2 separate regions of the Homo sapiens genome follow, and region 1 is linked to region 2. The links are contacts of gene promoters, found by promoter capture Hi-C in blood cells and fetal thymus (Javierre and others, 2016). All regions are on one chromosome and are shown on one strand. Each heading gives the region's core, a stretch centred on a gene start or on the middle of the fragment in contact. The rest is flanking DNA. Distances are from core to core; before and after follow the strand shown.

Region 1 (6,892 bases), core at 1,812-4,311, 360 kb before region 2:
CAGGTGGGGAAGGGATTGTTCTGGGTCCTGTCCACCCCCAGTTCCATTCTCAAAGTCTTGGAACTCAGGGACAGGGAGAATGCTGCCAGCAGCTGAAGGAGGGGAACAGATGTTTGAGTGCCCACTCTCGGAAGCCCACCAGCTGTCTAATTGGGGGCCGCCTCTGGCACTGATCAGCAACTCTCTGGCCAGGGTTAGGGGACAGGAAGTATCCCACAGCAGCTGCTGGGGCAGAAGAAGACGGCCCAGAGGACAGCAACTCTGCCCTACGTTTCTGCCCAAACTGGGTCTTGCCATCTTCTGGTGGATCAAGGAGGGTTCACAGCTTGCTGGGCAAAGCTGGGCGGGTCCCTGTGCCTCTCTGGGCCTCATCAGGGCCCACCTGGGAAGTGGCTCACTCAGTCACCTTCTGGATTTAGCAGGCAAAATTTCTAGTCATATGAAATCCTGAGCTGGGATGCAGTATGCAAAAACCCAATAAAATTCATCTCTAGTGCAGGGGTCTCAAACTTGTAAATAGGCAAAACAGGCCAGGAGGAGACTGTGCAGAACCAGCCGGGGCCTGCCGTGTCTAAAGCTGGCAGCCACTCTTCAGTGTAGCCCATCATGGCCCATTATGTTAGAAGACGAACGCATCTAACAGCTTCTCGGGAGAGTGAGGAAATCCAGCATTTCCTGTGAAATCTCCCCATCATTAAATGTTCATATCGAGTCCAACATTTTCTGAAAGCACTACGTGGGCCGAGGAAAACATGTCTGCTAACTCTATCAGGTCAGTGGGGCACTGCTAGCCACCTCTGGGGTACAGGGGAGAGTGTTCTGGGCAAGGGGATCAGCGCACACAGAAGCCCTGAGAGGTAAGGTCAGGAAACCAGCGATCTGCCAGTGGGGAGGGGCGCTGGCATGCAAAGGGCAGCTAGGTCCAAGCTCCCAGAAAGACACAGCTCAGGACAGTGTGAGGAGAGCTGGAGATACAAGGAGAAGGCAATCTAGCTTGATGGGCAGTCTGAGAGTCAGGGATGGCATGGTGAGCTGAGAGTTAGGATGTGTCAGCTTTCATCCCTCCTTCCTTCCCGCCTCCTAGAATCATTCACCCACTAAACATCTATTTAGCCTACAATGGGCCACGGCCAGGGTGAGGCACAAGGAATACATTCTGCAGTCTTCCTAAGAAAGCCGCCTGAGCTCAGGCCCAAGGTACCACTTATGACCCAACACAAGAATCCCTTGTTCTTGCCTGATTCCTCCATGGGCCGTGGGCTCCAAGAGGGTAGGGACTGGGGGGTACCCAGTGGAATACCCATCCCTGTGACTCCACGGCTCAGGGATGCCTCCTGGAGATGACAATGTTGGACAAATCCTTACCGACCCTCTCGTGCACACTAACACCCTGCACCTGTGCGTACAGGTGGCCAAGACACCAAGGCCCCTTCCACCTTGGAGCTTTCCCTCTGGCAGACGTCCATAACTGAACAGCATCTAATCTCTGCCAAGGGTGAAACCCAAGGCCTTCGTCCAGGAAGCTTTTCCTGACGGCCCCTGCCAGACACGCCGCGTCATACCTGGTAACCCTGAGCTCCGACAGCTCCACCAATGCCCTCGATCTGGATCCTCATCTCACTCCACTACCGAGACTCCTCCAGTGGCTTCCCACAGCACCAAGACGGAAATGTGAGCTGCCTGCCAAGGCCCTGCCTGAGGTGACCCACTTTAACTGCTGAGGCCACATCTCCTGCCCCTCTGACCACTCAGGCTCCAGCCACAATGGCCTCCTCCTGTTCCACCATCACTCAAAGCTCACTGCAGCCTCAGGGCTTTCGCGCCTACTGCTTCCTAAGCCAGGAATGCTGTTCCCCACACCCTCTCATGGCTGGCTCTTGCTTGTCTTTCAGATCGTGGTTAAATGTCACTTCCCCTGAGAGGTCCTGACTGCCCACTCTTCTGAACCAGCCCCATTTCCTCTTGTCCTGACTTCACGCTAAGTATTTCCTTAGCGCATTCATCAAGTTGCTGAAATTCCCTTCTTTCTATCTGTCTCCTCTTCTGTTGTCTGATTTCCCCCACTGGATGCTTACCTCTATGAGGGCAGGGACTTCATCTGTCCTATTCCCGACTGGCACATAGCAGGGACTCGGTAACACTGAGTGGGTGAATGAATGAGTGAATCTGTTTTGTCTCCCCTACTAATCTGACGATGCCAGAGGGCACAGGCCATGCTCCTCCCAGGACACCCTCCACATTAATACACACAGATTTTATTCTTTGCTTTTTAAATGTGGCATCTAAGAGATTTTTCTCTGAGTAGGGCAGAAAGAGGCCCCTCCTTCATACACTCATCATGCACAGCCAGTACGATTCCCACGAGTCTCACCAGCACTGTGCTGCACACGTCACGTGTTCTCTCACTGTATCCTCCGACAGTCCTCAGAGGCACATTTTATTATCTCCCTTTAACTGATCGTTCACTGAGGTTCAGAGAGGTTAAGAAACTTCCCCAATGTCACACAGCTAGAAAGTGAGGGAACCAAGACTTGAGTCCAAGTCTAACTCAAAGCCAACCCTTGGGGGTGATAAAGACAAATCAGGCCAGGTGCAGTGGCTCACGCCTGTAATCCCAGCACCTTGGGAAGCCAAGGCGAGAGCATTTGCAAGACCCCCATCTGTACAAAAAAAAATAAAAATTAGCTATAGAAGCCTAGCACAGTGGCACACACCTGTAGTCTCAGCTACTCAGGAGGCAGGAAGATCGCTTGAGCCCAGGAGTTTGAGGCTACAGTGAGTTATGATCACACCACTGTACTCCAGCCTGGGCAACAGAGCGAGACCCTGTCTCTAAAAACCAAAAGATAAATCAGACACTTTTTATATTCATGCAGTTCCCTAACAGTGGAGACAGATGTAGAGAGAGGAACTGCTAGGGAAAAATAAAATGTGCTGAGTAGAAATAAAAATGAATAGACAGGCAAAGTACAGTGGGAGACAGCACCAGTGTCGCTTTGTGATCTTGTACAGAACCCTTCCCCTCTCTGTGCCTCGGTTTCCTCACTTTTAAAATGGGGGTAGTGGCAGTGACTGTTTCACGGTGTTGTGTGGGGATTAAAAGACATGGCTGAATGCCAGCACATGCAGCAAAGGGCTTGATCAATATCTCGGAGGCTACCAAGTCCTTCTACCCTGGAGGACCAGGGACGCATCTTGGACAAGAAGATTCAGTAGCGGGACCCTGGCGGGGGTAGCAGGATCACACACCCTACGGCTGTGTGCAGAGCAAAGCCGTGCAGGGAGAAGAGTTTATCAGAATAATCTCCTGCAGAAAGGCTGGCCCTTTCGGACCTGCAGTTACAAAACAAGCTGCTATCTTGGCCCCATTTCAAATGGGCAGTAAAAGAAATCTCTCTAATCCTTCCTGAGGAGGCAGAACTCCTCGAAGTTCTGATCACAGACAGGCTGCCTCATCGGTCCGGACTGAGCAGTTTGGCAGGAGATGGGAAGGTTCTCTGGCCCCAGGGGGCCCGGAAGCAGGCCCCTCCTGAGAGAAAAACCTCCTTTCCTGTGGGATTAGGAGTTGGCTGAAAAGGCCAGCCAGGCTGCCCCGCCCCGCCTGCCCCAGCCAGCAGGACTCCAAGGCCCAAACTCTCCTCTCCATGGAAGCTCAGAGCTGGAGTTCCTGATCTTTGAGGAAAATAGGGCACCAAGGCCCTTGAGGGCAACAGGGCAATAGAGTCCATGGCGCCCTGCAGGTTTGAACCCTTCTACTTGCTGCCCCTCCACCACAAGCCTCAGGCCATGAGTGCCAGCTGTCCCCAAGTCCACACTAAGCCTCCGTGGCCTGCCCAACATCCATACTGCACCCTGAATGTCTATCAGCATTTCAGCCTCCACCGGGCTCCTGCTCCTTCCCAGGGACCTGCTCCTGCCTCCCCGCCTCTTCCTCCCCTTGGCTTCCGGAGGAGTGCCACCTTCTCGCCAGCAGCTCCACTCAGAGGTCTCTGCCCCCTCCTCCTTCCAATGCCATCATCGGGCCCCAGGGCCCAGGCCTGCCTCTTCTATCCCTTCAGGTTCCCCTGCACAGTTCAGGCCGTCTCATGGCTTTAAAGACCATTTAACACCATCTCCCATGTGTAGGTCCCCAATGCAGACCTTTCTCCCCAAGTCAAGATTTTGCAACCAACCAACAAGCCCACATCTCCATGTGGGTGTCTACCAGCCTGACATAACCCGTCCACAACTGCACTCGTGGGCTTCCCACGGCCCCCTGCAGCCTGCTCCTCCCGCCATCTTCTTCTCCTTCTCAAAGGAGCAACTGCAGCTTTCCAGCGCCTTAAAGTCCTGAACTCCCTTTACTTTTCCACCCCATCAGCAAATGCTGTTGCCTTTCAAGTTATCCAGAACACAGCCACTGCTCCCTGTCTCCACAATGACCATCCTGGCTCAAGCCTGGCCCACACAACCTCTCACCTGGTCCACAGCACTGTGATAAAGTGGCAGCTTTTACCCTAGGCCTCTGCAAAGGCTTTAGGGAAGTTGGGGGGAGTTTAAGTCCTTACATTCTAAATAAAGTTCCCGCATTGCCGGCAAACCTCTCTCCCCAGCTGCACCACAAGCTTCATGAGGTTGCAAGCCCTTGGCACTGTCCTCTCCGGAGTGTCTAGCACATTGTAGGGCCTTAAAACAGCCTGACCATTTTACAAGGACTGGATTTCTTCTACCTCTCCCGTGCCCCAGCCCTCTCCCTCAGGTGACCTGCGTGTAAGAGCCAGCCTGTCACACCTGTGTTCTGACCCCTTTGAACTCCAGTTATAAAATGGGGCTGTATTTCCCAAACAGAGAAAGTGGAGGCTCTGGGCACTGAGAAGTTTATAGAAGCTTCCCTCGCCCCTCACATGTAACTCAGGAAGAGACGCCTCACCAGATACTCTCCCTGCCAACACCCTGACCTAGGACTGCCAGCCTCCAGAACTGTGAAGCAATACATTTCTGTTGTTTAAGCCACACCAGTTTTGTGCACTTTGTTATGGCAGCCCCAGCCAAAAAAAAAATGGGGTGGGGGTGGGGGGCCTACCTTTATTCTTCCAGCCCTTAAAACACCTTTGTAATCAATTACCTGTGTTCAATACCTCTCTGCTTGAAATGCCTAGAGTGGCTTCTCTTTTCCCAAGTGCTACAGCAGCATTTTTCAAACCGTTAGTGCTTTGTGAAACAATGTCATGGGTCTTGCCAGCATTAATTTTGAAATGAATGAAGAAGCAACTTGAATAGAATAGAAAGAACAGAAGAGAACAGAAACAGATATTTTCAGAGTGGGATCAAGCACAGTAAGCTCTGTGAAACCTCAGCTTCAATCATATATTACATGAATGGGTGTACCAGGTCACAATGGAAAATTATGTCTGGTAGTAGGTTGAAAGACCTGATTTAGGGACCCCACTAGCCTTCTTGATCTCTGAGGGCTGCTCCATAAGGATTCAGGTCCTTTTGTCACTCTGCCCAGGATGGCTCCTGGGCAGGGCCAGGCTGCATGGGTGGATGGGGATGATCTGCCCCACCTCCAGCTGAGAGCCCAGGGACCCAGGGAGTTCAGAGTGAGGCTACTCACTTGCCAAGAAAGCACTTGGGGACAGTGCTCAGCTTTCTCCGGCGGTCCTTGATGAGGTTCACCTTCTTGTTCATCATCATGTGGTACAGCTTCTCCCCCTTCTCCGCAATCATGACGTAGGCATCACGCTCCATGCCCAGCTTCAGGCCTACACAGGGGCACGGTCAGCACTGGAGAGAGCACCAGGCCCAGGGCAGGGGGGGTAGGGGGAGACAAGGGGCAGGCCCACAGCTCCTGAAAGCTGGCCTGCCACCTGCCCCACCACCTGCCCTCCACCACCACCACGCCAGCAGCAGCTAGAGGGCACTGACTGTCGCTGCCCTAGGCACCTGCCAATGACACCTCAAAACAACCATTTTACAGATGGCAAAGTTGAGACCCAGAGAGGTTAAGTCCTGGGATGACAGGGGGTCATGCCTTCAACCCAGGAATCAAGCTCTAGTGCTATGTTCTTCATCACTTTCCTATGCTGCCTCCCCAACCTGAGGGTGGGTTTCTAGATTCACAGGTTATCAGAAAACTTGTCAGTATCTCCATTCCAGCCCAGTGATAAAAGTCTGGTCGTTCTTCCAGCCAACACTCATAGGACCTGACCCTAATCTCTGCCCACATTTTTCTGTTTTGACCCCCATCTAATTTTGACAACAGCAAATGCTTTTATAGCACCTACTACATGCCAGTACGCCACATGAGAAACCCGCAATAATAAGGTGCCATAATTATCCCCGTTTTACAGATAAAGAAACTGAGGTCCAGAGAAGTTCGGTTCTCTGCCCAAGGTTGCCCAATTGGAAGTGGTGAAACCAGAATTTAGACCCAGGAAGTTGGTTCCATATTCGTGCTCGTGACCACCCCAGCCCTGAGGTCAGGATGTGGACAACACCCAATTCTAACAACTAAGACCCACTTGGGCCACATCCCCACCCGTGATCCCATGTGCCCAACAAAGACCACAAAGATACTGATCGGCCTCACCTAGGCCACATCCCTGAACCCCATCCCAGTCCTGACCACATACTCAGCCCCGATCAATTTCAGAAGTCACAACACTGCCTAACCAGGCCCCCAGTTCAGTGGTTTATCGGGCCTAATATCATTTTAATAAATGTTGGTGCAACGTTTAGGATCAGAAAATGCCACCTAAAAATCCAGATGTCTAGTTCCTCTAGACAAATAATCCATGGATTTGGCCCCGCTGGGCCCATATTCCTGAGAGAGGATGGTGGCTTGTCTTGGGTGGAAGTAGGGAGAAGAGAGGAGAAGCGGATGGGTGTGACATATATGTGAAAGGCAGAG
Region 2 (6,832 bases), core at 161-2,660:
AAGCCCTGGCCAGGCGTGGTGGCTCATGCCTGTAATCCCAGCACTTTGGGAGGCCAAGGCTGGCGGATCACAAGGTCAGGAGTTCAAGATCAGCCTGGCCAATATGGTGAAACCCCGTGTCTACTAAAAATACAAAAATCAGCGGGGCATGGTGGCGGGCACCTGTAGTCCCAGTAACTTGGGGGGCTGAGTCAGGAAAATTGCTTGAACCTGGGAGGCAGAGGTTGCAGTGAGCTGTGACAGCACCACTGCACTCCAGCCCTCCAGCCTGGGCGACAGAGCAAGACTCTGTCTTTAAAAAAAAAAAAAAAAAAGAAAAGCCCTTGCTGTATAGAATCCCTTAGGTTATGGATGGGGAGGAGGGCAGGGGTTTAGGAGGGGAGAAGCGGAAGGAGGAACAAAATAAAGAAGAGACAATTAGTTGGAGAGTGATAAATACCATAATGATATCATGGAACTAGGCTTACCAGATCAAACACTGGGCACCCAGTTCAATGTGAATTTCAGATAAGCAATGCATGATTTTTAAGTATAAATATGTCCTACACAGTATTTATACTAGAAAATTATAAATTTTTTTCTAAAATTTACATTGACCTGGGCAGCCTGCATTTTATTTGCTAAACCTGGCAACCCTAATTTGTGTGCTGGGTGGTGGTGAGTGGGCAATTTCAGATAGGCCTCTTTTGTGGAGGTGACATTTGAGCTGGAACCTAAATGTAAAGAAGGAGCCAATCATTCAGGAATCTAGAACATCCCAGCACAGGGAACAGCAAGTATAAATGCTCTAAAGTGGAAATAAGCTTGGAGCTTAGAGGAACAGGAAGAAGGTGGGGTGGCGGAGCTGAGTGAGGGTGAGGAGAGGAGGGAAGCGGAAGGTGATGAGGGCAGGCAGGCTGGCAGGGGCCAGATCCCATATGGTTTGTGGGCTGTAATAAGAGTACCAAAACTTACATACCAGGCCAGGCGCGGTGGCTCACGCCTGGAATCCCAGCATTTTGGGAGGCCAAGGTGTGCGGATCACTTGAGGCCAGGAGTTCGAGACCTGTCTGGCCGTGTCTCCCTCTAAAATAGAAGCTCCAAGAGGGGCAGGAAGTTCTCTTCCGTCTTAGACCCTATGTGCACGACCTTGGATCGATCAACATTGAACACCTCCTACGTGCCAAGCCCTGACATCAAAATGGGTCAGAAGCCAGCAGCCGCTCGCTGAATCTGTGTTCCTCTTTGGAAAACGAGAACCGTGAAGCCTGCTGGCATGGTCAGAGCCAAAGAGCATTGTCACTTGTGAGATCAGCGCAGAAACAGAGCGGGGCCCCGATTGGCCCTTCGAACTTGGGTGGGGCCAGAGCATTCCTGGCCCCGCCCCCTGCAGCGGGCCGCTCGCTCATGCGCTCTGGCCTCAGGCTCGCTGTCGCGCCATTTTGCCGGGGTTTGAATGTGAGGCGGAGCGGCGGCAGGAGCGGGTAGTGCCAGCTACGGTCCGCGGCTGGGGTTCCCTCCTCCGTTTCTGTATCCCCACGAGGTGAGGCGCGGGGCGTGCACGGCCTACCAGAGTGGCTCTTGGGGCCCAGCTGAGGAAGGGATGAGGCGCTCCCGGTACTAACGAGCGCTAGGGAGTGAGAACCGCGCCTCTGGGCGAGAGCGGAATGTGGGCCCGGGGTTCGGGTGGTGCGCTCAGGCAAGGTCTTCGGCTTCCCTAGGGAGCGCTTGCCGCGCCTCGCGGCATCCTAGGTCTCTGGCCCAGGTGCGGCGACCCCAGGGCCTGTGAGGGCTGAGGGCAACTGAGGCGCGGCCTAACGCGAGCCTGCGGATTGCCCGCCCTTTCCTCTCCATCACGGCGCTGATTGGCTGCGCCGCCGCCTCTCCGCTCGGGAAGGCCGCTCCTTATTGGTCGCGCTCGCATGTCCATTCTCTGCGACGGTGGCTGCTAGCCGCGCGAGCTGAGTGTGCGGCGGCGAGGCCTGCCCGGGCGGGGACTGCGGGCGCGTGGAGCTGCGGCTGCCTCGCGTCGTCCCTTGCCCTAACTCTAGTGAAGCCCCCGAACTCACCCTTCTCTAACCTCTGTACTTGTATCCCTGACTGTAAAACGGGCATCGTGATCTCACTTTGCTGAATTGTTTGTGAGAATTCTAGTCGGTACACCCGGGACATAGAAATCCCCTGTAACGCGGGTTGGGGGAGGGTTCCCTCGTTTTGGGAGAAACGCTGTGCTGTGGTGGTTCGGAGCATAGACTTTGGAATTAGATCGCCTGGGTTCATTCCAGACGTAGCCTCTCGTTAGGGGTGTAACTTGAGGCTGGTCACCTCATCTCACTGAGCCTCCATTTCCTTAGCTGCAAAATGGGGTTAATAACAGAATCTACCTCGGAAAGTGGCTTTGAGGATGCGCTGAGTTATTTACCGTGGTTTACAAAGGTTCCCTGGGAGCTGACGGTTGTTTATTCATCTCTCCCACCCATCTTTCTCCTTAGCCAGTGTGGCTTTCTGTTTCTTCCATATTCCAGGGTTATTCCGATTTAAAATTATTTGCACATGCCTTTTGTTTGCTGGGGAAGTACCAACATTTTTGCAAGGCAGGCCGCCTCTCCCAAGTTTCCCTCACCTTAGGCCTCCCCTAACCAACCTCTTCTTTTGTTTTCTTTTTCTTTTTCTTTTCTCTTTTCTTTTTTTTTTTTTTTTTTTTTTTTTTTTGAGAGAGAGAGTCTCGCTCTGCCTCCCAGGCTGGAGTGCAGTGGCGCGATCTCGACTCACTGCAACCTCCGCCTCCCGGATTCAAGCGATTCTCCTGCCTCAGCCTCCCGAATAGCTGAGACTACAGGTCTGAGACTACACGCCACCACACCCGGCTAATTTTTGTATTTTTATTAGAGACGGGGTTTCACCATGTTGATCAGGCTGTCTAATCAACCTGTCTAGGACCTTTCTCCCATGGCTCTCCATCAACATCACCTGGTTTTAGTTACTTCATAGCATTTACTAACACTTACTTATTGCTTACTTGTTATCTTTCTCAACTGCTAGAATGTAAGCTGTTTGAGAGCAAGGACCTTGTCTGTCTTGCTTACTTCTCTCTCCCTGGTGGGTGCCATCCCACCTGTGCTTGCCACATGGTAGATGCACAAGTATTATTCTTCCTTGGAGGCACAGAAGGGGACCCTTTAGTCTTGGATTCCACCAATTGCTCTTTTTCTCACCTTGGGCCCACATAGTCATATCTTTGGCCTTTCTCTGTGTGTGTCTCTCTCTTTTTTTTTTTTTTTTTTGACATGCTTTCAGAGGATCCTAATGGACCTCGTCTCTCCGCTCCTACAACCCTTTATCTTTCACTTCTTACCATCAGTGCAAGGGAAGTCTCTCTCCCCTTCTGATTACTTCTGCTGGTTGGGGTCTGGGACAGGATTGGATGGATGCAAGAGCAGTGCTCTAGTTTTGGAATTAATTTGTTTCTTTATTCATTTAATAACTTTATTGAGCATCCACTTAATCTCTGGGAATATAGTGAAAAAACAAAAATGGACAAGGTCCCTTCCCTTGAGGACCATGTATTCTCGTGGGCGAAAGAAAAAACATTAGATAATTTCAGATAGTGACAGAATTATGTGACAGGTGAAGAAGGCTTTTCTGAGGAGGTGACATTTGGGTAGAGACCAGCCATTAAAAGGTGAGGGGCAGAACATTCCAGGTAGAGGGAATAGAAGGCTCAAGGCTCAAGGACAGGAACCGGCTTGGAATATTGAAATATTTAAGGAATATCTTAGGTTCCTAGAGTGTTACATGAAGAAGGGAGAAATATCCAGGACCCGGATCATAGAAGGCTTTGTAGGCAATGTAAGGAGTTTGGATTTGATTCTAAGTGGTATATTCCTATGGTTAGAAAGCAGAGGGTAGGTTGAGGTGTTGGGATATGTTCTTCATGTGTGGGTGCCAGATAGTTTTCATTCATTGGATCTCTTTCCCTCTTCCCAAATGTAAGGCCTCGGGAATGGTTCTCTAATGTGTTGAGGACATATCTAAGAAAAAGGCAGACATCTTGGATCAGCTTATGTCACAGATGTCTGTGAGATGGCTTTGGAAAACAAAGCTTTTATTCCAGAAATCTCCACCTGTAATTGAGGGCCTGTGGGAAGATGCTAGACTTAGGTCTGGCCATTCATTCAACAAGAAGAACTTGGAAATTTAGATGTCTGCCATAACTGATTTATTGTGATGCTTTTTTAAGTTTCTTAATTGTGTATTGGTAGAGATTTCCAAAGATAGTTACGTGGAGAAAGAAAAGTATCACCCCCTCATTTAAAGGTGATAAAAATGAATTCTTATCTTCTCCCTCCCTTTTTTTTTTGGAGACACCATCTCACTGTGTTGCCTGGGCTGACCTGGGCTCAGTCTATCCTCCTACCTCAGCCTCCCGAGTAGCTAGGACTACAGGCGTGCACCACCACACTCAACTAATTTTTATTTTTTTTTTGTAGAGATGGCACCATGTTGCCCAGGTTGGTCTCAAACTCCTGGACTCAACCAATCTGCTTACCTTGGCCCCCCAAAGAGCTGGGATTACAGGCATGAGCCACCCTACTTGGCCAAAATGAATGTTTTGTTTCTAGTTTGAGTCATTTTTAGATCAGTAACACTTTTTGCATTTATATATTGCTAATATTTCAGAGTGTCAAAGTACCTTTACTTGTGGTTGCATAAGATAATTAGAGCTTGATCTTGTTGATAATTATGAATACCTGTAAAATGTTCTCTAAAAGTCCCTGATTTCTCTTATTTTCTCAAATTAAGGATAAGCTTAGAATTCGGTTTTATAGACTATATCTGCAAGGCGATATAAAAAGGATTTGTTGACAAATAGTTCCTTAAAGAATATTCCCAAAGAATAAACTTTGGAAGGCCAAGGTGGGCGGATCACTTGAGCTCAGGAGTTCCAGACCAGCCTGGGCAACACTGGAACCATGTCTACAGAAACAACACAAAAATTAGCCAGGTGTGGTGGTGTGTGCCTGTAGTCCCAGCTACTTGGGAGGTTGAAGTAGGAGGATGGCTTGAGCCCAGGAGGCAGAGGTTTCAGTGGGCCAGAATTACACCACTGCATTTCTCCAGCCTAGGTAACAGACCCAGACCCTGTCTCAAAAAAGAGTATTAAGATTCTGGGATCTATGTAGTATTTTAACTTTGAGGGATTATAACATGCATATTTATATAACCCCTCACTTTTTTTTAAACTTAAAAATAGTCCTACCCTAGCATCTCAACTTAATCATTTTAGGTTTCATTCTATTATGTGGTTTTATTTATTTATTTTTATTTTATTTTATTTTATTTTATTTTATTTTTGGAGACAGGGTTTCACTCAGTCACCCATACTGGACTGCAGTGGCAAGACCTCAGCTTATTGCAGCCTAGACCTCCCGGGCTCAAGCAATCCTCCTGCCTCAACTTCCCTAGTAGCTAGGACCACAGGAGGGTATCACCAAGCCCAGCTAATTTTTTTTTTTTTTTTTTTTTTTTTTTGAGATGGGAGTTTCACTTTTGTTGCCCAGGCTAGAGCTAGAGTGCAATGGTGCAGTCTTGGCTCATTGAAACCTCTGCCTCCCGGGTTCAAGCAATTCTCCTGTCTCAGCCTCCTGAGTAGCTGGGATTACAGGCGCATGCCACCACGCCCGGCTAATTTTTTTTTTTTTGTATTTTTAGTAGAGACGGGGTTTCATCACATTGGTCAGGCTGGTCTCGAACTCCTGACCTCAGATGATCCGCCTGCTTCGGCCTCCCAAAGTGCTGGGATTACAGACGTAAGCCACCGCGCCCGGCCTGAGCCCAGCTAATTTTTAAAATTTTTTGTAGAGACAGGATCTCACTATTGTTGCCAAGTCTGGTCTTGAACGGTCCTTGGGGTCAAGTGATCGTCCCATCTCCACCTCCCAAAGTGCTGGGATTACAGAAGTGAGCCACCTTGCTCAGCCTGTTGTGGTTTTAGAATCTAGAAGGTTGTGTCCACCTCTTTCTGTTTGACACAGTCAACCAACCAAAATAAAGATGAAGAATAATATTTTTGATGGAAACATCAAAGGTATCTAGCTTTTTAAAATAGTACAACAAATATATAACGGGTGCTCATCACTATTGTAAGGCTCTAGGGAGAGAGCAGTGAACAAAGCACAAAGTCCCTACTATCAGTGGAGTTTACAATCTAGTGAAGAGAGAAGCACAGTAAATGACAAAAGAAATTAATATGCCTGATAAAATGTACTTGGAAAATAGTAGAGTAAGGGCATGGAGAGTAACTGAGGTGAATGCTCTTTTAGATAGGATGGTGCAGCAAGGCATCTCTGAAAAAAAGATGACATTTGAAAAGAGTCCTTCCAGGCCGGGCACGGTGGCTCATGCCTGTAATCCCAGCACTTTGGGAGGCTGAGGCGGCAGATCACCTGAGGTCAAGAGTTTGAGATTAGCCTGGCCAACACGGTGAAACCGCATCTTTACTGTATATAAAACTCAGCCGGGCGTGGTGGCACGCACCTGTAGTCCCAGCTACTTGGGAGGTTGAGGCAGGAGAATTGCTTGAACCTGGGAGGCGGGGACTGCGGTGAGCTGAGATCACGCCACTGCACTCCAGCCTGGGTGACAGAGCAAAGACCCCTGTCTCCAAAAAAAACAAGAGTCCTGAATGAGAATGAAGTGGGCAGTGCAAACCTTGTAGCTTTCCGTGTGCAGAGCTCTGCAGGCAGAAGGAATGGTAAGTACAGAACCCTGAAACAAAAGTAAAATCACTGGCATGTTTGAACAGGTAATACAGGATAAATTTTATCTTTTTTCAGAGACAGAGTCTTACTCT

Evidence for each region. Contacts are between HindIII fragments. The CHiCAGO score rates a contact against its expected background, and 5 or more counts as called.
Region 1: a fragment that was not itself captured here is called in contact with the fragment with the promoter of CSE1L in region 2 in 1 of 17 cell types (monocytes); the score reaches 5.3 in monocytes.

Annotation. Positions count from the first base shown.
Region 1 is chr20:48,683,061-48,689,952 of GRCh38, forward strand. PREX1 (phosphatidylinositol-3,4,5-trisphosphate dependent Rac exchange factor 1) reads right to left here. Exons shown (of 40, transcript NM_020820.4): 10 at 5,597-5,744. Among named protein-coding and RNA genes, the nearest start is that of PREX1, 140 kb to the right of the region's middle. RefSeq lists an enhancer at 1-718. The HindIII fragment of the contact is 3,081 bases long and covers 1,522-4,602 here.
Region 2 is chr20:49,044,902-49,051,733 of GRCh38, forward strand. CSE1L (chromosome segregation 1 like) reads left to right here and starts at 1,411. Exons shown (of 25, transcript NM_001316.4): 1 at 1,411-1,522. It overlaps CSE1L-DT (CSE1L divergent transcript), which reads right to left and starts at 1,155. Exons shown (of 2, transcript NR_110625.1): 1 at 959-1,155. RefSeq lists enhancers at 1,034-1,183, 1,734-1,803, 1,769-2,409. The HindIII fragment of the contact is 3,278 bases long and covers 802-4,079 here.